5 separate regions of the Homo sapiens genome follow, and all the other regions are linked to region 2. Evidence: promoter capture Hi-C in 16 types of primary human blood cells and fetal thymus (Javierre and others, 2016). All regions are on one chromosome and are shown on one strand. Each heading gives the region's core, a stretch centred on a gene start or on the middle of the fragment in contact. The rest is flanking DNA. Distances are from core to core; before and after follow the strand shown.

The links. Contacts are between HindIII fragments. The CHiCAGO score rates a contact against its expected background, and 5 or more counts as called.
Region 1: a contact is called between a fragment that was not itself captured here and the fragment with the promoter of DEDD in region 2, in 1 of 17 cell types (erythroblasts). The highest score is 5.1, in erythroblasts.
Region 3: a fragment that was not itself captured here is called in contact with the fragment with the promoter of DEDD in region 2 in 3 of 17 cell types (erythroblasts, naive CD8 T cells and naive CD4 T cells); the score reaches 6.7 in erythroblasts.
Region 4: a contact is called between a fragment that was not itself captured here and the fragment with the promoter of DEDD in region 2, in 1 of 17 cell types (neutrophils). The highest score is 5.8, in neutrophils.
Region 5: a contact is called between a fragment that was not itself captured here and the fragment with the promoter of DEDD in region 2, in 1 of 17 cell types (naive CD4 T cells). The highest score is 5.2, in naive CD4 T cells.

The regions. Positions count from the first base shown.
Region 1 is chr1:160,862,939-160,865,638 of GRCh38, reverse strand. No RefSeq gene overlaps it. Among named protein-coding and RNA genes, the nearest start is that of CD244, 1.4 kb to the right of the region's middle. The HindIII fragment of the contact is 2,876 bases long and covers 1-2,700 here.
Region 2 is chr1:161,131,367-161,134,066 of GRCh38, reverse strand. DEDD (death effector domain containing) reads left to right here and starts at 1,400. Exons shown (of 6, transcript NM_032998.3): 1 at 1,400-1,516. RefSeq lists enhancers at 936-1,245, 1,707-2,530 and silencers at 1,266-1,615, 1,666-1,885. The HindIII fragment of the contact is 8,185 bases long and covers 1-2,700 here.
Region 3 is chr1:160,830,651-160,833,350 of GRCh38, reverse strand. It overlaps CD244 (CD244 molecule), which reads left to right. Exons shown (of 9, transcript NM_016382.4): 8 at 776-832; 9 at 1,924-2,700. The coding sequence ends at 2,004. Among named protein-coding and RNA genes, the nearest start is that of CD244, 31 kb to the left of the region's middle. The HindIII fragment of the contact is 4,367 bases long and covers 1-2,700 here.
Region 4 is chr1:160,668,522-160,671,221 of GRCh38, reverse strand. It overlaps the pseudogene SETP9. Among named protein-coding and RNA genes, the nearest start is that of SLAMF1, 23 kb to the right of the region's middle. The HindIII fragment of the contact is 6,892 bases long and covers 1-2,700 here.
Region 5 is chr1:160,793,172-160,795,871 of GRCh38, reverse strand. No RefSeq gene overlaps it. Among named protein-coding and RNA genes, the nearest start is that of LY9, 1.7 kb to the left of the region's middle. The HindIII fragment of the contact is 487 bases long and covers 1,008-1,494 here.

The DNA.
Region 1 (2,700 bases), core at 37-2,536, 270 kb after region 2:
TATTGATTTTGTAGGTCTTGGGTCCTCGTGCTAAAGTGGCTGAGTTGCACAGAAGGACTCTCTGCACAAAAATTAGGAAGGGCAAGATAAAAACTCCACGAGGGCAGGGTCCATGGTGACTCAGCTAACCAGTCTATCTCAGGGGAAATAGAAATGTCTTCCTTAGAGAATTCATTCATTCCTTCAGCACTTGACAATCTACGAATCAACTCTGAAGAACCAGGCGCTGGGTGAGGCTTGGAAACACTAAGCTAAGGAGAGCATAGACTTTGTGTTGAAGAGCTCAGGGCTGGGGAGGTCAGTGTGTAGAACAAATGGCAGGTTGTTTTTTTTTTTTATTATTGTTGTTTGTTTGTTTGTTTTTGCTCTTGTTGCCCAAGCTGGAATGCAATGGCGTGATTTCGGCTCACTGCAACCTCCTTTTCCTGGGTTCAAATGATTCTCCTGCCTCAGCCTCCTAAGTAGCTGGGATTACAGGCATGCAACACCACACCTGGCTTATTTTTTGCATTTTTAGTAAAAACGGGGTTTCACCATGTTAGCCAGGTTGGTCTCAAACTCCTAACCTCAGGTAATCCACCCACCTAGGCCTCCCAAAGTGCTGGGATTACAGGTGTGAGTCACTGCGCCCAGCACCTTTTTTTTTTTTTTTTTTTTTGTGACAGAGTCTTGCTCTGTCTCCCAGGCTGGAGTGCAGAGGCACAATCTCAGCTCACTGCAACCTCTGCCTCCCAGGTTCAAAGGAGTCTCCTGCCTCAGCCTCCCGAGTAGCTGGGATTACAGGCACACACCACCACACCCGGCTAATTTTTGTATTTTTAGTAGAGATGAGGTTTCACCGTGTTGGCCAGGCTGATATCGAACCCCTGACCTCAAGTGATCCACCTGCCTTGGCCTCCCAAAGTGCTGGGATTATAGGCATGAGCCACTGCGATCAGCCTACAAATAGCAGATATTGTGTGATAGAGTTTGTCAGGGACCACAAGACAGACACACACTCAGTGGTACAGCTGCTCCGAGTTCTGTTTCCAGGGGATGATAGGTCATCCACATGCCTGGTGGGAAGGATGGAGCTGGTGTTGGGGTCAGGATTGGAGAGGCTGATTCCTAATTCACATTCATTAGTGGGTTCCAACAGCTGGATCTTGTTTTCCACCTGTCGTGTGAGGAAGTTTACCCTTCTTTGTTATATCATGTCTTGTGCACCACTTCTCAAGGTTAAGGACATGGCCAGATCAACTCTGAAGAAATTCCCCAGGGTTGAGGGCTGCCCCTTGGGAGCAGACAAAGGAGAGAAGAGATGATAACCATTAGACCCGCTGGAAAAAGCTATTCAGAGCTTAAAAAAATGAAAACAAAACCACAAAAACCTCATCTATGTCCAGTGTTTTTTGTGTGCATATTCTGGAGTATCATTTTTAATTTGATCCTGAAAACTGCCTTGTGAAGGTGGGGAGGATGTATTGTTGACCCTACAGGCTCAGACAGCAACAAGGCCAGAATCACATAGGTTGTAAGTTGCTGAATGGGAGCTGCAAGTCCAAGTCTTTGACTCTAAATCCAGCGCTCTGTCCAGAGCCCCGCTGCTGCCTCTGTTGGCAGCTGAAGCTGTCAGTCTGCTGCCCCCTGCCCAGTTCAGACAGGGTGGCTGGAAATGGACCAAAGGATGGAAAAAGAGAATAAGAGCGGACTTGAAGGGAACTGAAAGTATTTGTTAAGGGGAAAGCAGAAGGAAGAAAGAAAGAGGCATGAACCCTGGGGCCTGGCCTTGAAGCACAGTGTTCCAGGGGAGGGGGGATGCCGCTGTCCCCACCCCTCCATGGGGGCCTAAGCAGATCCAGAGCTGCCTGGCCTTCCTGGAGGGTGGCGTCCAAGCATGGATGGGAAGGCAGCAAAAATAGGCCCATGTCACTTCTGGGAGAAGACAAAAGAGGGAAGAGAGGACTACTATAGAAAAGTAGAAAAAGAGGAAGGGAGGGAATCTAGGCATACAGATCGGAAATGTGGAGCAAAACAAAATTTTTTTTTTTTTTTTTGAGACACAGTGTCGCTCTGTCACCTAGGCTGGAGTGCAGTGGCGTGATCTTGGCTTACCGCAACCTCCACCTCCTTTGCTCAAGTGATTCCCCTGCCTCAGCCTCCCAAGTAGCTTGGATTACAGGTGCACGCCACCCAGCCTGGCTAATTTCTCTATTTTTAGTAGAGGTGGGGATTCACCATATTGGCCAGGCTAGTCTCGATCTCCTGATCTCAAGTGATCTGCCTGCTTCAGTCTCCCAAAGTGTTGGGATTACAGGCGTGAGCCACTGTGCCCCGTGTGAAACAAATTCTTATGAAACAAATTTAATTTACATGTGCTTAAACTTTGGTGTCAACTTGCATGGAATCCCCAGGCTTGCTAGATTTTTCTAGTGCCTCCAGCCCTTAGGTCTCTTCCTATGTTCTCTCAGCTACTCCTCCTTTCCTTCAACACTGTTAGCCGCTTATCCAGGGCCCTACGTTTCAGCCCACTCCTCCTCCAGCCCCTCTCCACTCCACCTCCACAATGTCTGTTGGAATGGAACAGTTGGGGATACTGGCTGTTTGGCCCCCATGGGGGTCTCTCCATATAGGATTCAGAGAATTGGAAGACTTCTTGGGCTGAAGCAGAGAACGGGATGCAATTTTGAAACTGGCTTTGTGAGTCACTGTGAACTTCAA
Region 2 (2,700 bases), core at 151-2,650:
TGTATTTTTAGAAGAGACAGGGTTTCACCATGTTGGTCAGGCTGGTCTCGAACTCCTGGCCTCAAGTGATCCACCCGCCTCGGCCTCCCAAAGCTAGGATTACAGGTGTGAGTCACCATGCCCGGCCCTGATGTATATATTTTAGTTAGCATTTTACTATATCTCTGTTACACTAAACGCTTTCACCAGTTTCCTTGATAGTTCTCTATGGTTTTCTTCTTTCCTTTCGGTTTGCCCCTTCTCAGTGTTCTTTTCGGCTTCCCTCATCCTATCCCGCAAATGCAGGTATCCTCTCCAGCCCACTTCATGGCTTCAACAGCTATCTATATGCACACGCACACACACCTCAAACCTTTCTTTTGAGTTCCCAACCCACATTAGCTAATATCCCAGGGGCACCTAAAACTCATTATCTCCCCCCTAAACGAGAAAGAAACTGGTATCATTATTCCCCAGTTGTCCAAGTCACAACATTCGTACCTCTTAAACCAATCTGTATCTCCCCATCCGCACTCTCCCTTCCACAGGCAGACCATCATCATCCTTGCCTGGAAAAGAGCCTCACAACTGCTCTCCTTGATTCTCCTCAATTCATTCATCCTTCACACTGCACGCAGCGATCTAAAATGCAAATGAAATTGTTCACACCTCTGCTGAGATTCTTCAAAGACTTTTCATTGCCTTAAGGATAAAAATCAATTAATTTACAAGGCTTCGCATAATCTGGTCTTCCCCTATCTATTACCACTTTCTTAAGCCACACCAGAACGTACCCGCACCATCCTCCCCACCCCCAATTCCCAACAGCCCTACACGGATCAGCTAGGCGACACTTCCTACAGGAAACCGGCGTTCAAAAGGTAAATGCTGAACAAATGAATTCCGAGACGGGATCTGGGCACCACTTTCGGCTCCGGATCCGGGTTTACGGAACGTCCGGGTTATCAGGAAGCTCAGAGGAAAGGTGAAATCCAGATCTTGACCCTTCACTCAAGTTCGCCAGACAAACCGATCCCCGTGGTATTCCGCCCTTATGAGTCATGGCTGCCAATCCCAGCCTTCCAGTGGGTCTTGAAGTCGCCACCAGCCAGCTGTGGCGCCACCAATGTTTCCCATTCAAGAATGCTATCCTCTTCGATCCCTTATTACCGCCCTAAGCAGCCGTCAAGACAAACCGGCGTTGCCAGCTTGCCCCAAAGCAAGATGGCTGCCAATCTCTATCTCTCCTCCCGAAGTGAAGCTATCCACTCCCCGATTAATGCCGCTGCCAGGCTGCCCTCACTTACTATGGCTACTCCGGCTCATGTCTCACTATGGCCTCGAAGCCGCCACTAACCGGCCGGGTTCCGGGAGGCGCCGTTCAGGATGCAGCCACCCCCGCCCGCCTGTCCCCTCCCCCACGGCCGCGGCGGCGGCGGCGGCGGCGGCTGCTGGAGCCCGGATGCGGCGCCGTGAGGCAGGCCCGGGAGAGCGGCGCGGATGGATCCAACATGGCGGCGCCGAGCCTGAGCCGAGAGTGAGGCGGAGGGGCGGCCGGAGTGGGGAGAGGGAGTCGAGCGGGACGGGGCGGGGCCGGGCGGGGCCGCAAAGGGCTTGGGGAAGGAAAGTGGAGGGGGAGGCGGTGGCGACGTCCAGCCTGAGAACCTCAAGAGAGGGAGGTGACGGGACGCTGAGAGGTGGGGGAGGGGAGCTGCCGAGGGGGGCGTGCAGGGGAGATGGCAACTGCGGGAGAGGGCAGGGGTCGAGACGGAGGAGTGAGGGCATGGGGAGGGGCGTAAACAAGGGCTGAGACTGGGCCCAGCCAGGGGTATTAGAGAGGCCGAGGTGGGGAGTGGGGCTGCGATCCGCTCGTATTGAAGGGGGTAGGAGCAGGAGGGAGAGGCTGAGGGTGTGAAGGGGAAGGGGGCTGTGGCATGTGGTTGGAGGGAGGACTGGACTCTGATGAGGGGTGTTGCGAGGAGGTGGGTAAAGGTCAGAATTGGAGTTAAGACGTTTCTGGGGGGCTTCGAAAGTGTTAAATTGGAGGTGGGAGGGGGAAGGGCCTAGGGGAGAATTTGGGTGGAAAAGGAGAGAACGGAGGCTTGGGGAATGGAGAGAGTGTCGGTGGGAGGAGGTAATGGAGAAAGTGAGAGACTGGGAGGAAGAAAGTTTGGGAGGAAGGGGAGTGGAATGGGAGATAGGACAGTGGAGCTGCACGGGTGATAGAGGTTCGGGGGTTTCCCTTTCCCCGGTGGAGAGGAGGAGAGAACAGAGTTAAGCAGCATCAGTTGCAGCCAATTCTAATTGCCAGGCCCTTAGCTTTTAAGAGGGTGGGAAGGGCAGAAGGGAATGGTCATGTGGGTTTGCAGAATTGGGGTTGGATGAGAATTCAACTGGGTTTGTTTTCCAAAAGACTCCCTAGCTTACTGTTCCCTTGTTTTTCCTGCTTGGGAAAATGGGGAAGCCGGTGTCGCCCAAGTGTGGAGGAGCAAAGGACTTTTCTAGTTTTTAGCATTAGCAATACAAGAGTGGGGGAGCAGACATGGCTATATTGGAACCCTATATGCTAAGGTGGAGGCTCTGGAAGTCTGAGGAGGGAAAGAGAAAAGATAGAGTGGCATCTAGACAGGTTAATTAAATGAGTGCTGTAGTTTCCAGACCCTTTTGCTGTTTTAAGTCTGGAAGGGAGGGGGTAACATGGATACTGTATGTAGAAAAACT
Region 3 (2,700 bases), core at 68-2,567, 300 kb after region 2:
CAACTGTGGAAGTCCATGCAGGTCAGGGACCACAGGTTTGAAGGGGTTTAGGACAGATTTTCAGACTTTTCATTCAACCTCCTTCCAATAAGCCATTCAACCTACTTGGATCCCATCGTGAGAGAGATTTGTTTTTAATTATATGCTACAATATAAGGCCATATAGATGTTCACAGGCACCATGTTCACCTGCTTTGGTGTATGTAAACTCTATATGCTACTGAATGTGCCTCTGAATTCTAGTGTCCTTGGGTTGGCAATTATTTATATGCCTGGATTGTTTACATTAAGGGTGTGTGTATGCATGCGTTGAAGAGATACATGGTTTGGGGCAGTATTTGCATTAGGATTGCCTGAGGGATATGTGTGTATGTGTATGTGTATGTGTATGTGTATGTGTGTGTGCTCTGGGAATGTGTGTGTGTATATATATACACAAATATGTATATATATGTGTGTGTGTATATATATATATATATACACACACACACACATATGTGTATGGGTTTTAGGTGTATGTGGGTATGGAACAGCAAATTCTGATTTTGGTTCAGAAATATCATATTATAGGCAAATACTGTATATATTGTGTCTTCCCTGGAGACCATAAACACCATTGTTTTGCTCCTAGGGTGACAGATTCTATTCATTTTCTGGCTGAGAGTGCCTCAGAATTTTTCTGGGCCCTGAGTCTCTTTTGGGACCTCTCACATCACTTAGGAGTGGGAGAGCACTTATCTCGAAGTTAAGTATTCTTTACCTTCTGAATTTCTAGTCTGGATCCAGGAAGAGGAACCACAGCCCTTCCTTCAATAGCACTATCTATGAAGTGGTAAGATTCTGGAACTCCTCAATGGGTTTACTGTCTGTTGCATAGCCCTGAAATCTAGCCATGAAAGGGTACACTTAGGAAAAGATCATTCACACAGTCTCAGAGTTGTAGGGAATTTAGAGATCTTCTAATGCAAGTCTTTGTTTTAGAGATGAAGACACTGAAGCCCAAGGAGAGTGAGGGTCTGACCCAAGATCATATTGCGTGTTTAGATATGATACTTACTGGGCAGCTTGGGTTTTAAATTAGGGCCGTCCCCGAGCTAGTTCCCAGGCTGTGGGCCACAAACTGGACATCTCTCCTTTCCAAGAGTGTTCGGAGGAGGGGTCAGAGAGGGGAAGATAAAGGACTCTAAATGATTTTCTAAAATTAGCAAGTCTTTGGGAGCCATTCCAGGACATAGGTGAGCTTAATCTTCTTCAGGGGTCAACACTGTTCAGAGATGACCACTGAGCCTGGTGGTTGAATTGATTCCCATCAGAGCATTTAGGGACTGGAAAGGAGGGACTCAACATTTCTTGGGGGTTTATTATGGATAAGGTAGCCTGCCAGTGTCTTCACATGGATTATTTTATTTAGTCCTCACAGAATGCTACAAGATAGGTATAATTATACTTTCCATTTATACTCAGAGAAATTAAGGCATGGAGAGCATCCCCCAACCTCCCCCACTACCCATTAGCCTCATACTACACCTGAGCCTCCCCACCTGTGGTCCAATAAAGATGCTGCCATTGGTCAGAAGGGAGGGATGGGTGGCTGCCTGCTGGAATTCCTGGCACTTCAGCTATCACCCAACATTAAAGCCAACTGGACAACCCAGGGTCATAGAGGGCACTGTGTAGACCCAGGTAGCTTGTGAGGTCATGAAAAAGCATATGTGGTTAAGAGAGTACTGGAATTGGAGCCAGAAGAACTAGATTCAAGTCCCTCCTGCACTTCACACTAGTCGTGGATCCTGAGTAATTTGTTTTGTCACTCTGAGCTTCATTTTTTAAATCTGTAAAATGGGGATGGCAAGTCATACCTCACAGGATTGTGATAAGGACCTCCCAGTGCAAGGGTCTGAAGTTTCTCCTTTTCTTTTGCAGATTGGAAAGAGTCAACCTAAAGCCCAGAACCCTGCTCGATTGAGCCGCAAAGAGCTGGAGAACTTTGATGTTTATTCCTAGTTGCTGCAGCAATTCTCACCTTTCTTGCACATCAGCATCTGCTTTGGGAATTGGCACAGTGGATGACGGCACAGGAGTCTCTATAGAACAGTTCCTAGTCTGGAGAGGATATGGAAATTTGTTCTTGTTCTATATTTTGTTTTGAAAATGATGTCTAACAACCATGATAAGAGCAAGGCTGTTAAATAATATCTTCCAATTTACAGATCAGACATGAATGGGTGGAGGGGTTAGGTTGTTCACAAAAGGCCACATTCCAAGTATTTGTAATCTAGAAAGTGTTATGTAAGTGATGTTATTAGCATCGAGATTCCCTCCACCTGATTTTCAAGCTGTCACTTGTTTCCTTTTCTCCCCTCTCTGGGTTGACTGCATTTCTAGACTCTCGCCGGCCCAGGCCCATCTTCCAAAGCAAGAGGAAGGAATGATAATGGTGACTCAGGGGAAGAAGAAACAGCCCTCCTCTGAAAGCCTGGACTGTCCGGCTGTGAACTGGCTGGCAGGTTCTGCACGTGGGTGGGGGCCAGGGCCTGGGCTTTACTCAATTGCAGAGAAAAAACTTTCTCCCTGCATCTCATACCTTTACCTCTGGCCAGTTGGCCACCAGGGGGAGTGGGCTGAAGGGAGAGTAGATGGTGCAAAGCAAGCCCATCTCTAAGTAGAAAAATCACCCAGAGCACATGCTGACCTGATAAC
Region 4 (2,700 bases), core at 184-2,683, 460 kb after region 2:
GTTCAGACAGGAAGAGATAAGAATGAATTCTGAAGAGAAAGGGGTAGAGAATATTTTCCCATTGTATTATGCTCAAGGCATTTCCCCCCAAATAAGTTGAAAACCATGGTGTAGAGAAAAGAGACCTCAAGAACAGCGCGACTGAGCACAAGAGGGGAAAAAAGAAAAAAGACTGCAACTTGCTCCCAGGGACTGGAGAAAATTAAAAAAAAAATTGTTCAGAACATCAGTGTTCTGTTAGTCATCTTCTCCTTCATCCTCCTCTCCTTCCTCAACGTCATCATCATCTTCCTCTTCTTCGCCTTCATCCTCATCCCCTTCTTCATCAATATCTTATAATCCTTCCTCTTCTTCATCATCATCATCATCTTGTTCTTCTCCTTCTTCTTCATCATCCACATTGGGAACCAAGCAGCACTGTTATGGGTTTGGCCAAGTACTACCTGTGATGACCTCTCATAACTCACCAGCACCTGCATCAGAATGGTCAGTAAAGCAGGTCAAGAAGCTCTCTGGTGCCTCAGGCTGCCTCTTCCTACTGGCTTTATTCTTCGTTCGACTTGAACGATTCGTTACATCCTTTCAAGATTTCCATTTGATTTCAGTGGACTTTGAAGATGGATCGCCACTCTCATTTAGATGAAATTCTTTGGAGAGGAGTTTATTTTCAAAGTAAGGATGTTCATCAAAATAAAAATCTATTCTGTAACCTAATTTAGTATCTTCAAATTATGTCACTTCAACTCTGGTCATATAATGCAGTGCCTCTTCATCCTCCTCCACAAGCAGTGCAGACACTCGTGGGTGGTTGACAAATGATGTTACCCAAAAATGTGGGATTTGGGCCATCAATGATCAATTCTGACCTCTTCTGAAAAAATGATTGGCAGAGTTTGTTCTATTTCTGTTCTACTTTCAAATTCTCCTCACTGGCTTGTTCATGAAGTCTGTTTCATTTTGTACTTCACAAATGTGTTCAATTGCTGCTTGCTATTCTTTTTCTGAGGTCTCGTCTGCCCGGTTGCGGTTGGAGTTGAGCTCCTTTCTACTGACTTTAGCCGTTGGCACAGACTTGGTGCTGCTTGGAGTTCGGGGGGCGGGGGGCGGGGTGTGGTGGTTGGGGGGAGAAACGGGAACGGGGAGAGAAGGAATGGGGAAGCGGGTCGGGGGTAGGCGGCTTCCCCTAACTCCACACTCGCTGGCACTCACTCGGTCAGGCCGCCTCCGCTCCCCGTTCGCTCGCTCTCCCAGCGCTTGCTCGCGCATGCTGCCCTGGCATATGATACATAAAATGTATATAAAAGACAATATAAGTGTAGTTTTTGTTTGTAATTTTTTTCTCTTATCTGATTTAAAAGACAATTTTATAGAACAATAATTATAAATCTGTGTTAATGACACACATGTATAAAGATGTAATTTGTATGACAATAACAGCAAAAAATGTGGGCAGGAGAAAAAGCTGTGTGAGAACAAAGTATTATATTATTGCAATTAAGATCATTGTAACCTCCAAACCAACTATGAAGAAAATAAATACAGTAAAAAAAAAAAAATGACAAGGGAACTTAAGTGTACAGTAGAAAAAATATATTTAATACAAAAGAGGGCACTAATAAAGAAAGAGAAGAACACACACACACAAAAAACCTATAGAAAACTAATAGGAAAATGGCAAACATAAATCCTACCATATCAGAAATTACATTAAATATAAATGGATTAAACATTACAAATAAAAGGCAGAGGTTATTAGAGTGGACTAAAAAAAATGGGTCCACTATATGTTGTGTACAAAGGACACAGTTTAGATTCAAATACACCTATAGGTTGAAAGTAAAAGGTGGAAAAAGGTATATTATGTTATGGAAGCAATAACCAAAAGAGAGCTGGGTTTAGAAACTGAGATCAGTCAAAATATGATTTAAGACAAAAATTGTTGTAAAGACAAAGAAGGACATTTTATAATAATAAGAGTTAATGCATCAAGAAGATATAACAATTATTAATATATATGCACAGAGCCCCAAAATACATGAAGCAAAAACTTACTGAATTGAAGGGATAAATAGACAATTCAACAATAATAACTGGAGAATTCAATATCCCATTTTCAATAATGGATTGAACAACTATACATAAAATCAACAAGGAAATAGAAGACTTAAACAACATTATAAACCAACTAAACTTAACCAAAGTCTATAGGACACTTTACCCAACAACAGCAGAATATGTGTTTGTTGTTCTCAAATGCACATGGAACATTCTCCAAGATAGACTATATGTTGGGCTATAAAACAAGTCTCAACAAATATGAAATGACTAAAATTACAGAAATGTCAAAAGTATGTTTTTAACCACAATGGAGTGAAATTATAGATCAATCACAGAAGGATATTTGGAAAATTCATCAAGCTACATACTTCTAAATCAAGCTACATACTTCTAAAACAATGGGTCAAAGAATAAATCATAGGGGAAATTACAAAATACTTTGAGATGAATAAAACTAAAAATATTACATATCAAAAACTTATGAGATGCAGGAAATCAATGCTTAGAGAAACTTTTATAGCTGTAAATGCCTAAATTAAAACAGAAAGATCTCAAATCAATAATCTAACCTCCTACCTTAAGAAACTATAGGCTGGGATTAGTGGGTCATTCTTGTAACCCTAACACTTTGAGAAGCTGAGG
Region 5 (2,700 bases), core at 2-2,501, 340 kb after region 2:
CCTCTGTGTAATCACCTCTTCTTTAGTGTGGCCTGGATTTAGTGACTTGCTTCAAGTGAATAGAATGTGGCAGAGATGTGGGATGGGTCACTTCTGAGATTAGGTTACAAAAAAGCTGTGACTTCCATCTTGGGTTAGCATGTGTGTGCATATGCGCTCTCTCTTTCTCTTGCCCTCTCTCCCTCTCTGTCTTTCCCACTATCTCTGTCTCCCTACCTTACACTGAGGGGAGCCAGGTATTGTTTTGTGAGATACTTTAGGGAGAGGGTTCCAAAACAAAGAACAGAGGGAGGCCCCCAGCCAACAATCGGCGAGGAGCTGATTCCTCTGGCCAACTGTCCATGAGGACTGAGGCTAGCCAAGAATCACATGAGTGAGACTGGAAGTGGATCCTCCCCAGGAGGTCCTTGAAATGACTGCAGCCCTGGCTGACACCGTGATGTTAGTTGTGTGAGTACCTTAAGCCAGAGGCACCCAGCTAAGCCATGCCCAGATTCCTTATCAAGAGAAACTGTGAGATAATAAATGTTTGGTTTTTAAATTTTTTTTCAATTTTTTATTTTTCATCAAAAATGCTTATTGTTTTTAGCTGTGAAGTTTGGGGCAATTTGTTACACAGCAACAGATAACTAATACAGTGACCCAATACATTTTCTATTTTGCTCAAGGCAGTTTGTGCTAGCTTTCTGTCACATGCAATGAAGGACTTTTAATATGGACAAAGGCATCAGGGAGACTGCAATGGGGGTGGACATCGTATGTGACAGCGTAGAGGTGACTGAGTTGAAAAGGTAGGCTGGAGAATGGCATGATTCCCTATATCCTGACTTGGGAAACTGTCTTTTTCTCCTCCTTCTTCTTGTCAGTAGCGTAATAGCTGGCCATGCTATGGTTTGTGTTTCGGGCTTCAGGTCATTTGTTTACTTAGGCTGTAACATTAAGGGGACTTGGCAGGAAAACTTGAGGCTGGCAGAATGTGTAGTTTTAGCTAATATTCGATGAAAGCTTACAGAGTGCTAGTCCATCTTCTGACACTTTAACATATTCACTCATTTGATCTTACAATAGTTTTATGAGATATCTTTTATCATCCCCATTCTATAAATGAGAAAACTGAGGTGGAGAGGGGTTAAATAGCTTACTATAAGTTTTATAGTTAGTAAGGACTTGAACCCAGGAAGTCTGGGTTCAAAGGAAGAAGGGAGAGAGAGAGAGAAACCATTAAGATAACAGGCTTATGTCCATGGAAAGCATCTTTAGAGGCTGGTCATGATCTGATGTTGCACAATATTGAAAGTGACAGAATCTCGAAAATCTTTAAATTTTGTGCACTAGGAGCGTGTCTTGTTTCACTCTAGCCTTGGTCCTGTGACTAGAACATGGGCTGTCTAGAGGGGATTGCAGGACATACGGTCAGGAGAGGTTACCAGAGCCCAGATAAAGCATCCTGTTACCAAGCTAAAGGCAACAAGAATCCAGTAGGAGTAGGAAGCTTCCTGGAGCTGCAGAGTGGAGGGAGAATGGGTGGAAGGGATGAGCCTGGGGATGAGAAGACAGGTGCGGAAGCTATTGAAGGAGTCTGGGTACAGAACATGAGAGCAGGAACAGTCTGCATGGGAGGCGAGGGCAAAGGCAGAAGGGAATTCAGAGAGATTGGTAATAATAAAAATCATTACTAACATTTATTGGGTAATTACTATGAGTGAGCCTCTGTGTTTAGAACTTTACATATGTTTTCTCCTTTAATCCTAAGATAGACCCTATTTGGATGATACTCCAATTATCCCCATTTTAGAGATGAGAAAACTGAGATTTAGGAAAGTAACATCACTGAAATGACCTCCTTTGAAGTTGTGACCATAGGAGGACACAGCCTTATAATACACAAAATCCAATTTAAGTATTATCATTTAAGTATAGTAAAACCTAAATTAATATAAATTTTGGTATGATGCATTTGTTAAGTGTGCCCTGTCCTCACATGGGGAGGGCTAATATTCTCATCAGGACAGGGAGGCAAAGGCACTAGCATTGGGAATCAGGGAGCAACATCCAGTGATGCTGGCCCCGGCGTCTCCAGTGTTGTCCTTCTCAGTATACTTCAACCACCCCAGCAAGTGGGTGTGACTGACTGGAAAATTTTTGAAATCCCTGCTACTGTCCTTGGAGTCCCGCCAGCTACAGGCCCAGAATCACCCCTGTCAACTGGGCATTGCCTCCAGGTAGCATCAGACTCCAGCCTGGGTTGAGATTTGGGTCTGGCAGCCACAACCACATACTCAGCTGTGTTGCTTCACCACCAGCCCCCAACCAACACTTCATTCACTGTGCAATTAAGACGACCCTGCATTTTACACAATTGCATTTTTTGGACTTTATTTCTAATGTTGTCTTGACTTGCAGTATATATATGCTACTACAGATTGGAAGAATATGAAAGACTGTAGAATTTTGACAAGCTCAAAGCTTTTTACACTTAGATGGAAAGACAAATATATGTTAGGAGCTAAAGAAATTCAACATCAAATCAACTGCTGCAGCCACAGTAGAGGGAAGAATTAGGGAATGTCACAGTGTTCAAGTGGAATCTAGGGATATAGGCTATGAGACCAGCCTTTTAGAGGGTAGCAACAAAACAAGCAAAAAGTGGTGCTGCCAGCTGGGCACATTGGCTCACGCCTGTAATCTCAGCACTTTGGG